4 separate regions of the Homo sapiens genome follow, and all the other regions are linked to region 2. Evidence: promoter capture Hi-C in 16 types of primary human blood cells and fetal thymus (Javierre and others, 2016). All regions are on one chromosome and are shown on one strand. The core of a region is centred on a gene start or on the middle of the fragment in contact, and the rest is flanking DNA. Distances in the headings are between cores, read along the strand shown. Region 1 overlaps F5 (coagulation factor V). Region 2 holds the start of SELE (selectin E). Region 3 overlaps F5 (coagulation factor V). Region 4 overlaps F5 (coagulation factor V).

The links. The method cuts DNA at HindIII sites, captures the fragments that hold promoters and counts their contacts. A CHiCAGO score of 5 or more calls a contact.
Region 1: a contact is called between a fragment that was not itself captured here and the fragment with the promoter of SELE in region 2, in 4 of 17 cell types (activated CD4 T cells, non-activated CD4 T cells, naive B cells and 1 more). The highest score is 8.4, in activated CD4 T cells.
Region 3: a contact is called between a fragment that was not itself captured here and the fragment with the promoter of SELE in region 2, in 8 of 17 cell types (naive B cells, activated CD4 T cells, naive CD8 T cells and 5 more). The highest score is 7.0, in naive B cells.
Region 4: a contact is called between a fragment that was not itself captured here and the fragment with the promoter of SELE in region 2, in 11 of 17 cell types (neutrophils, total CD8 T cells, total B cells and 8 more). The highest score is 9.5, in neutrophils.

The regions. Positions count from the first base shown.
Region 1 is chr1:169,526,545-169,529,244 of GRCh38, reverse strand. It overlaps F5 (coagulation factor V), which reads left to right. Exons shown (of 25, transcript NM_000130.5): 17 at 1,151-1,330. Among named protein-coding and RNA genes, the nearest start is that of SLC19A2, 42 kb to the right of the region's middle. RefSeq lists a silencer at 2,438-2,638. The HindIII fragment of the contact is 2,811 bases long and covers 1-2,700 here.
Region 2 is chr1:169,732,817-169,735,516 of GRCh38, reverse strand. It overlaps SELE (selectin E), which reads left to right and starts at 1,438. Exons shown (of 14, transcript NM_000450.2): 1 at 1,438-1,546; 2 at 1,857-1,941; 3 at 2,519-2,700. The coding sequence starts at 1,905. The HindIII fragment of the contact is 3,955 bases long and covers 1-2,249 here.
Region 3 is chr1:169,549,710-169,552,409 of GRCh38, reverse strand. F5 (coagulation factor V) reads left to right here. Exons shown (of 25, transcript NM_000130.5): 9 at 1,671-1,770; 10 at 2,395-2,609. Among named protein-coding and RNA genes, the nearest start is that of F5, 35 kb to the left of the region's middle. The HindIII fragment of the contact is 2,152 bases long and covers 175-2,326 here.
Region 4 is chr1:169,565,958-169,568,657 of GRCh38, reverse strand. The region is part of intron 3 of F5 (coagulation factor V); the gene reads left to right. Among named protein-coding and RNA genes, the nearest start is that of F5, 19 kb to the left of the region's middle. The HindIII fragment of the contact is 2,868 bases long and covers 1-2,700 here.

The DNA of each region.
Region 1 (2,700 bases), core at 128-2,627, 210 kb after region 2:
TTATATAAAAGAAATGATCACCTGTGTGTCTTTTCTAAAATAAGAATGACGCTAACAGTTTTAGCTCTCAGCAGCTACCAGGTGGCACCCAAAGCATATGAGAACAAAATGAGATAAGAAACTAGGTACCCAGGTAATAGGAGAATAGTGGCAAGAGAGCATTTGGGTGGTCACACTGGGAAAAGTGTGCCTATTTGGAAATTCACAAGGAAAATTTGCCCTGTAAGCTAGTAACTGAAACAGAAACTGAGAAGAGAAAGGTACGAGCTTGTGTTATGAATATGTAGATAGGTGTTCTCACGCCTGATATAATTTGAAGGATGCCCAAATGATCTCAACCCGTCCCTCTCCAAAAATTCACCTGCCTGGTTTCTGAAATTTCACAGCAGTTCCTCTAACTTAAGAAGGAGGAAACAAAGCACTTCCTTCACTTTGGTTTCAGTTAAACGTTTGGTAACACTAAACTTTATCTTTACAGTTTTGTGTTACATTTTTAAGGTGATCAAGTTTCTCAGGAACTTTTTAAAAAATCCGCGTATTTTACTGTGGGGAGAGTAGATAAAGCCTGAGAACCCTAGTTATCTAATCTGAGAAGTGGGCAGAGGAGTTGTCATACCAATAAGAGAATAAACATGACTTGCTATGGTTGCTGGATACACCAACGATAAACTCCTAATTTTATAAACTCCTAGACTTCCTAATTTGCCTGAAACTTTCTCTGAATTTAGAAGGCCTTAAGGTGACATGCTGCATATCTCCTTGCTGACTCTAATCCCTGGAGTTTACTTTGTCTGCCCATATTTGTATTTATCTTTTGTAGTTAAGGAAAATTAAGACTGTTAATGGAAAGTATACACGGGTAAAGCACGGAACTGTAAAAGCTGAGGAAAAGAGTGATAAACTGCTTGGAAAGGGAGTTCCCCCTGCCTTCTGCTGTAGGCTGGTGTGAATGATATGAGAAGGACTAGTGGTTCTGCTTTAGCCTCTCACTAATGTGACATACAAGAGGGCCCTTTCCATGGCTAGGTAGGCCTGGGAATGCAGAATCATGAGGAACATGGGTGTTGAGTGGGTTGCCCCATATTTCCTTACCACTCGCCCTCTCTGTGTCAACAGATTTTTAATTGATTTCAACTCTTTGTCCTTTCAGCCATTAATGGGATGATCTACAGCTTGCCTGGCCTGAAAATGTATGAGCAAGAGTGGGTGAGGTTACACCTGCTGAACATAGGCGGCTCCCAAGACATTCACGTGGTTCACTTTCACGGCCAGACCTTGCTGGAAAATGGCAATAAACAGCACCAGTTAGGGGTCTGGCCCCTTCTGCCTGGTAAAGATTGGGTAATGGGAAGAGGTCCCTGCTAAGAAATACAGGGAAAAGGCAATCTGTAACTCCTTCTCATTTCTTCCTTGTGCATATACTTCCTAAGGGGTCAGAACACAGGGTTCTGGCATAGAGCCTAGGCAAACCCATAGACCCAAAGTATATACGGAGTACAAAAATGTCACCTAATTTATGAACTATTTGCAGCACCACACAGGCTAAATGTGTGACCCAACTCAGTTGCAACATAACATGCAGTTTCTCCCAAGCCACTGTGTGTCATACAGATGAGGTCTTAAGCAGATGAAAAAATGAATCCCACAGGGCTCAGGCAGCTACAGCTATCTCTGCTGGGAGGGTTTCCAGATTCTTCAGTTCTGCTCCTCTTCTAGGCCCTATCACCCTAATATCTTTGGGCAAGTGACTCCAGGAATCACATTCTTAAACTGACTTATAGACTGTTTGAAGAGGAAAACATTTTTAAAAAATAATAATAAAAGTTAAAGAATAACAAAGGTATTTAGAACTTTTCATGTGCAAAATAAAGATAAATGTAGATTTAAACAGTCTACAATTATACAGAAGGGATGTTTCTGTGCCAATGAGTTGTTTGTAAGTGTATCTACTTGTGCAGCAGTATAAAAACCTAGGAAGTCAGTTAAAATGCAGATGTGAAGGCAGAGGGATTTTGTTCTCAGAGACTTTAAAGTAGATTTTGGGCAGAATTCCAAGGAGTCTGTATTTTTAACAAGCAGCCTTCCTTCTATTTTGCCTTCTATTAAAAGTAATGGCAAAAACCGCAATTATAGTTTGCACCAACCTAACACATGCTGCCTGAGGAGTTAGTGAAGGCAGCCCCTCGACAGCACTTTGGGTGACGTTGTGTGAATCTGCCTCAGATGCAGGCACAGAAGTCCAAATGGACTGGTTTGATTAAGAGCAGGGAAAAAAAGAGGGTTCTTATTGGTTTTTCACATGCCAGTAACTCACTAATACATCTAGAGAGTATTAATTGTATTATATTAATATCATATTAATTAATTAATATAATAATTAATAGATAATTTATTGTATTAAAATCAGAGACAGAAGAGATTCAGTCAAATTTACTCATCTTTTCATCAAGTATTAGAAGATCAGTCATCCTTCCTATCAGCCTGCAGACAGACTGAGAAGCTAGGATTGGCTGGTGTCTCTAAATCTGCAAACCTAAATACCTGCATTGGAGAGAGGAAAACTGGAGACATTTTTCAGTGTGTTTGAGGAAGATAATCATATCTATTCATTTTCACCCACAATCTGGGAAACAGTCATAAATTATAGTCAACAGAATTTAAATATTAACTGCCAGGGGGTAATGTTAAATACCAGAATGG
Region 2 (2,700 bases), core at 189-2,688:
TCTTGCATCAGGCTCCCCAGTAGCTGGGATTACAGGCATGCGCCACTACACCCCGGCTAATTTTTGTATTTTTAGTAGAGACAGGGTTTCACCATATTGGCCACGCTGGTCTGGAACTCCTGACCTCAGGTGATCCACCCACCTCAGCCTCCCAAAGTGCTGGGATTACAGGCATGAGCCATCATGCCTGGCCTAGAGACAAGTTTCTTTAAACTGTATTCTTGTTACTATAAAGGTGAAAAAAAGGGAAATTGAAAAAAACTTTAAAATCCTGAAAATAATAATGAAGGATATAAAAATTATCCCAAATCCTGCCATCCAGAGTTAGTCACTGTTAACATTGTGGAAGAATTTTTATTCTTTGCACATTAACATTTCAAAAATTTTAAACAAAATTTTGACCAATTAAATATATATATATAGTTTTCCGTTTTATTTTTTTTCTTTTCTTTTCTTTTTTTTTTTTTTTTTTTAAGACAGAGTTTCACTCGTTTCCCAGGCTGGAGTGCACTGGCGTGATCTTGGCTCACTGCAACCTCCACTTCCCGGGTTCAAGCGATTCTCCTGCCTCAGCCTCCCGAGTAGCTGGGATTACAGGCATGCGCCACCATGCCCAGCTAATTTTGTATTTTTAGTAGAGATGGCGTTTCTCCATGTTGGTCAGGCTGGTCTTGAACTCCCGGCCTCAGGTGATCCGCCTGCCTCGGCCTCCCAAAGTGGTGGGATTACAGGCGTGAGCCACTGTGCCTGGCCTCCTTTTTATTTTTTTCACTGAACAAACCATGAAACTTTCCCAGATGTAAATATCTATTTCCCATTTTTCTTTTTTTAAAATAAGGCATTATTTTAACCATTTGAGTGTTAGATATTATTTTTAGATAATATTTTAATTTAGGCATAACTGCCGTGCAAAATCTGAAGATTAATATCTACCTTGTGAGTCATTCCTCTGTGAGACAGTGCATGTTAAATATGTTGAATTGGCAGGTGAAAAAGGAAGAAAAAATGAGTAGTGATTGGTTATCCACAGCTATGAATGAGAAATTGAAGGTAGTAGACTATGGATGACAAACCTATTCTTGGTTTCCTTCTGTTTCTGAAATTCTAATTACTACCACAACTACATGAGAGACACTACTAACAAGCAAAGTTTTACAACTTTTTAAAGACATAGACTTTATGTTATTATAATTAAAAATCATGCATTTTTGTCATATTAATAAAATTGCATATACGATATAAAGGCATGGACAAAGGTGAAGTAGCTTCAAGAGACAGAGTTTCTGACATCATTGTAATTTTAAGCATCGTGGATATTCCCGGGAAAGTTTTTGGATGCCATTGGGGATTTCCTCTTTACTGGATGTGGACAATATCCTCCTATTATTCACAGGAAGCAATCCCTCCTATAAAAGGGCCTCAGCCGAAGTAGTGTTCAGCTGTTCTTGGCTGACTTCACATCAAAACTCCTATACTGACCTGAGACAGAGGCAGCAGTGATACCCACCTGAGAGATCCTGTGTTTGAACAACTGCTTCCCAAAACGGTAAGTGCAGAACGCTTTATAAGGGCAGCCTCGGGCCATGAAACACAGATATGCAAAAGGCCTTCTAATAAAAACCACATCTGTACAAGCTCTTATTGTATTGTAGCTAAAACCTGTCTTTTCTCTTTGACCTAAATAATGAAAGTCTTAAAATTTGTTTATTTATTTGATTAAACTCTGAAATAAAGATTATTGCACTAGTGTCCTTTGCCCAAAATCTTAGGATGCTGCCTTAAACATCATGGTAGAATAATGTAACTAGCTACCCACGATTTCCTTCTTTAATTCATTTTGTGTTTTATCTCCCCAGGAAAGTATTTCAAGCCTAAACCTTTGGGTGAAAAGAACTCTTGAAGTCATGATTGCTTCACAGTTTCTCTCAGCTCTCACTTTGGGTAAGTCAGTGCCATTAGACCAAGATTTCTCATTCTCGCACTATAGATATTTCAGACTGAAATATCCTTGCTTGTCTGGGGCTGTCCTGCACAGGATATCTGGCAGCATCCTTGACCTCTACCTGCAATGTGTTCTTCCCTGGGCTTGGGGTCATTTACTTTACCTCTTGGTGTCTCCCTTTCCTTAAGTGTAAAGTGTGGATCATAATGACCTATTTCCCAGATGCATTGTGAGGATTCAATAGCATGGTTCATGGAAAGTACCTCATACAGTGCTTCTTGGTGCATACTAAGTGCTCAATAAAGCTTAGTTATTCTGATTATTATTCTACTACAAAATGGGTATACTATAATGTTGTGAGTGAGTGTGGATAAGGTACCTAGTGGGTGGCAGTCACAAAAGAGATAAACAATAAGTCGCTGTTTCTTCATACGTACTTCTTACTTTTGAAAAGATGAGAAAAGTCTGGGCCATGTCACAAACATTGCCAAAAATAAGACAATAAAAAGCACAGTTGTCAGAGTTAAACCACAACAGTACCAAACTCTACCATTTCTTTTCTTTTTCTCCCACTAGTGCTTCTCATTAAAGAGAGTGGAGCCTGGTCTTACAACACCTCCACGGAAGCTATGACTTATGATGAGGCCAGTGCTTATTGTCAGCAAAGGTACACACACCTGGTTGCAATTCAAAACAAAGAAGAGATTGAGTACCTAAACTCCATATTGAGCTATTCACCAAGTTATTACTGGATTGGA
Region 3 (2,700 bases), core at 1-2,500, 180 kb after region 2:
TATTTACAGCTTACTCAGTAATACAAAGGATCTGAGACAGTTTCTCAAGTTATAAAGGCATAAAACAAGGAGTCTATGTAATTGGGATAGAATACGGGGACAAAGAAAATAAAGCCACAGATAAGTAGATACCATGTGACCCTGTAAGGCTGTCTTCAAATTTTGTCCTAAGCTTTATGGCAGTCAGTGTAAAAAAGGAAATATGTCAGGGTGAAGTTTACATCATCTACAAAAAGAAAGCACCATTTATCCTGATGTTAAGATCTAAGAGGAACTTCTTTAATGAGTTCTACAAAAGAGAGTGCTGAGTGATACAGTAGATGGCATCCTTGATAAAATTCTTATAACCAGCATAATAGATTAAAAGTTGCATAAAATAATAGATTAAAAGTTGCATTAAAATATTTCTCATTATAGCTAAGATATAACAGTAAACACAATTGAATAGAAACAATTTTTACTCATTTTTTAATGTAGTCTAGGTATGCAGCTCTCTAATGGTTGGACTCTGATGAAGGTAAACTCCATGTATCAAGAGCACGGAGTTTTCCTCAGACAATTCTCCTTAAATGTCATGTCACTTCACCAAGATAGATAAGAATTGGACAGCAGAGAATTAAAGGTTGCAATCTTTGACAAAATCCTAGAGTGTAGTTAATCTACAGACAAAGGATGATCCAAAGGCTTTGACAATCAACCAAATAGAAGATAGGATTAAGGTTCTCTTTTGCAGATTAAAGAGCCTAACTAGGACTCCTGTGTGTTTTATGCACCTGACAAGGTCTATTCTGTTCATTTAAAATAGCCAAAGGACAAAAGCAGTTTTTTTTCTCCATGCCTCTTTCCCTTCTTCCATTTCTGATCCCTTTTATGTGCTCTCAGCAAGTGTAGACATACCTTATTAAAAGTTCAGGATCTGGCTATTTGTCTGTGCCTCTCAAGCAAGTAGCTTTTCCCCCCCACCAAGGGTCTTACTCTGTCACCCAGGCTGGAGTGCAGTGGTGTGATCATGGCTCACTGCAACCTCCACTTCCTGGGCTCAGGCGATTCTCGCACCTCAGCCTCTCAAGTAGCTGGGACTACAGGCACACGCCCCAACGCCTGGCTAATTTTTGTATTTTTTTGTAGAGATGAGGTTTCACCATGTTGCCCAGGCTGGTCTTGAACTCCTGAGCTCAAGTGATCCACCTGCTTCAGCCTCCCAAAGTGCTGGGGTTACAGGTTTGAGCCACTGAACCTAGCTGAGAAGATGACTTCAAAGACAGTGTCCTAAAAAATCTACCGGGCAGGGGAAGGGGATCATGGTCTAGAGATGAGAAGCAGATTCAAAATGAGATGTGGCCCAAGCTGAAAAGAGAAGGGCAGGGGAAGGAGGACTTGCTTGGAGAGAGTGATACTGTGAGGAAAACGTCACTTCTCCTAACCTATCCTCTAAAGTCAGACTTCTCTTTCCATTTTCCACCTTAATGTGTGAGTGAAACACTCTCTCCAATGCTCCTGCCAAGTGATGAGGGGAGGTTACTGCTCAGATAAACAGATCTAATTTTCCTACTGTGTGTACACATGTATACACACACACCATCCAAAAGGTGAATATGCAAAGCTAGTATCTTATATTATTTGTCATGATCAACCTTAAATCCTAGAATAAATTTGATTTAACTTTGTAGATCGTGTTCAAAAATATGGCCAGCCGCCCCTATAGCATTTACCCTCATGGAGTGACCTTCTCGCCTTATGAAGATGAAGTCAACTCTTCTTTCACCTCAGGTTTGAATCTTTCACTTCTACTGAATCCAACTAGTAACTTCTGAGAGGCTGCCACATTTTTCTGCTATTCTCCTTGCCCGGTGGTGTCACTACTGCAGTCAGGTAGTATACATGTAGGAGTATCCTAAAAATCACAGCCAAACCCTTCTCACTTCAGGAGTTTTGTCTCTTAGTGGTAACAAAATATGGTGTCTTTTATTAGTGTCATAGTGGCCTCTAGTGGAGCATTATCTAATGGCTACATGTTATCCAGGTTCCAAGTAGAATATTTAAAGAATTCAATTGAACAATGAGAACATTTAGACACAGGATGGGGAACATCACACACCGGGGCCTGTCGGGGGGGGGGGGTGGGGGGCGGGGGGAGGGATAGCATTAGGAGATATACCTAATGTTAATGACAAGTTAATGGGTGCAGCACACCAACATGACACATGTATACATATGTAACAAACCTGCACGTTGTGCACATGTACCCTAGAACTTAAAGTATAATTTAAAAAAAATAAAAATAAAAGAATTCCTTTTGCAATATTAATTGGTTCCAGCGAAAGCTTATTTATTTATTTATTATCATGAAATAACTTTGCAAATGAAAACAATTTTGAATATATTTTCTTTCAGGCAGGAACAACACCATGATCAGAGCAGTTCAACCAGGGGAAACCTATACTTATAAGTGGAACATCTTAGAGTTTGATGAACCCACAGAAAATGATGCCCAGTGCTTAACAAGACCATACTACAGTGACGTGGACATCATGAGAGACATCGCCTCTGGGCTAATAGGACTACTTCTAATCTGTAAGAGCAGATCCCTGGACAGGCGAGGAATACAGGTATTTTGTCCTTGAAGTAACCTTTCAGAAATTCTGAGAATTTCTTCTGGCTAGAACATGTTAGGTCTCCTGGCTAAATAATGGGGCATTT
Region 4 (2,700 bases), core at 40-2,539, 170 kb after region 2:
CCCTTGTGTAAAGATTTTATTCCAGCAAGCAGCTGAACAAGGACTTCTTGTGCTCTAGCACAATAGTTGTCCCTGTCCATTTCTCTTCTTTTCAGTTTAGAGCTTAATTTTTTTTATTTTGATTACAAAGTCAAAATCACATTCACCAAAACTGCATCTCACAAATGCTTCCTCTTAATAGCTGTTTGTATTTTATACTTTATATTAATGTATGTTGTAAAATCAAAGATACAACAAACCTGTTTTATTCTAGACTAAAGGTAAAATAATTTGAAGTGAAAAGAATAAAAGCATTGATAAAATTACACCCCAATTGTCTCATTAGCCATCTCACTCAGTGTAATTATAGAATATATCCTATGTACAAGTCTATATCATTCACTGTTTCAAGATGCTCATAATTCAACTTTTAGTAGTATACTAAACTTAATTAACATCATTCATTTAATTATTTGAAATTCATCTTATATGTAACTGACAGGCGAATGTGAAATTCTGAGTAATTTAGTTTGATCAATTAGACAGACATTAATTTGTGTGACTAGAGTAACCTTTCATTATCTATCTCAAAATATCATGTACACAAGTATATACAATAATTTTTTAAGCCCAGTATGTGTTAAAATAAATCTAGGTGTGAAACATTGATTGTTTACAGATAGGTTCAATATTGTTAGAAAATCAGTCACCCTGCTATACCTAGCACAAGTGTTATAGCATCTTGGGCAATTTTTAGATACTTACATTGGTTGGTTCTCATTCCAGATTGACAGTGTGTTCTAATTGTAGCCCTAGAAGAAATCTAGAGGTCAAACCTATCACAATTAGGGCACCAACATGTACCCTAGAGTTAACTAGGCAGAGCCCCTCAGGGGCCCAGGCCCTGTCTTCTTTACATTTGTACTCTGGCATTTAGCACAGAGCCTGGAACCTAGTGGATGATGATGGTCATGATCATGATGATATTAATCATTACTGAACTAAACTGAGGGGCCGAGGACTGATTAGAAAGTAAGGACTATGCATTATTTTTCCCTTGCTTTAAAATTATTGATTTTGCTGATAATTTTGAGCAGGTACTTTGTCTTACTTATTACCAAAAAAAAAAAAAAAAAGTACTTTTACCAAAAAAGTCTTATTTACTTTCATCGCCTTTGGAATAGATACATCACTACAATGGATTGGAAGTTTGTGTCCTCCAAAAATTCACATACTGAAATCTAACCTCCAGTGTGATGGCATTAGCAGGTGGGGCCTTTGGGAGATTTTTTTTTATTATACTTTAAGTTTTAGGGTACATGTGCACATTGTGCAGGTTAGTTACATATGTATACATGTGCCATGCTGGTGCGCTGCACCCACTAACTCGTCATCTAGCATTAGGTATATCTCCCAATGCTATCCCTCCCCCCTCCTTTGGGAGATTTTTAGGTAATGAGGATGGAGCCCTCATGATGAGATTAGTGCCCTTATAAAAGGGACCCTCTCACTCACCCTCTTTCTACCATGTGAGGATACAAGGAGAAGATGGCAGTCTACAACCTGGAAGAGACCCTGCACCAGAACCCAACCATGCTGGCACCCTGATTTTAAACTTCCAGCCTCCAGAACTGTGAGGAAGAAGTGTCCGTTGTTTATAAGCCACTCAATCCAGGGTACTTTGTTAACAGCAACCCAAACTAAGAAAATCACCAATTTCTATCTTACTCACATGTGTTACCAGAACTCAAGCACACTTAAGATCTATCTTATCTAAAGTAGAACATAAAGGAAAGAGGCTGTATTAATTGCAACATGACTGGGAAAGAAAATACTTAACCAAAATGTGAACATGTATTCCCACAGGCTATCAGAGCATTTGTTAGGAGCCAGAAATTTTACAAATATTTTCCAGTCTTCATAACCCATCAAAAAGGATAAAGTTATCTCTAGAAAAAGGATTATATTATCTTAAATTATAAATGAAAAAACTGAGGTTAAAGGGACTTCAAGAAACCTTCCCAAGTTCCCACAGTTAGCAAATGATACAACCACCAAGATATTTTCAACTCTGACCCTGAAGTTCAAGTGCTTTCTCCCACTATCTAGCAGAAAAAAGTATCGTTAACCATATAGTCTCACAAATACTGAATTACAAATGGCGATGAGTGCTGTCAAAAAACCAACAACAAACAAACAGGTATCACAATCAGAGATCAAGAAGGGTGTAAGATGATATTTGATCTGACATCTGAAGAATGAGCACACATTTACCCAGAAAAATAAAGGGAGGAAGAACTTCAAAAGTTATCTCCTACCCTGCAAAGAATATAATGTTTTGCCCTTAGGGGAGCTTGTGAAGGCAGTGGAAAGAATATCATTTTCTACTATAGAAACCCCATGTGATGTTTTAACAGTTGAAACAGTGGAAGCTGCCTGTCCAGAAACATCATTTTTCAACTTTATGAGGCCATGTAGCAAGAAGCATTGAAGAAGGGCTGTCATGCTTGATTCAAGGTAGATGGTGCAGCTCATCAACTAGCCATGCTAATTTCAGTTAATAGACAAGTTCTGACCTGAGAGGGCAACTCTCCTTATCAGTCCTGTTTGTGCTTTGTTACCAAAGCTCTTTTGTAATCTTTCACAGATAATGCTTCCTGCTTATTAGTGGAGACTTTCTCCATAAACTTTTTTTCTTTTATAGACTAGAATTATGTTATA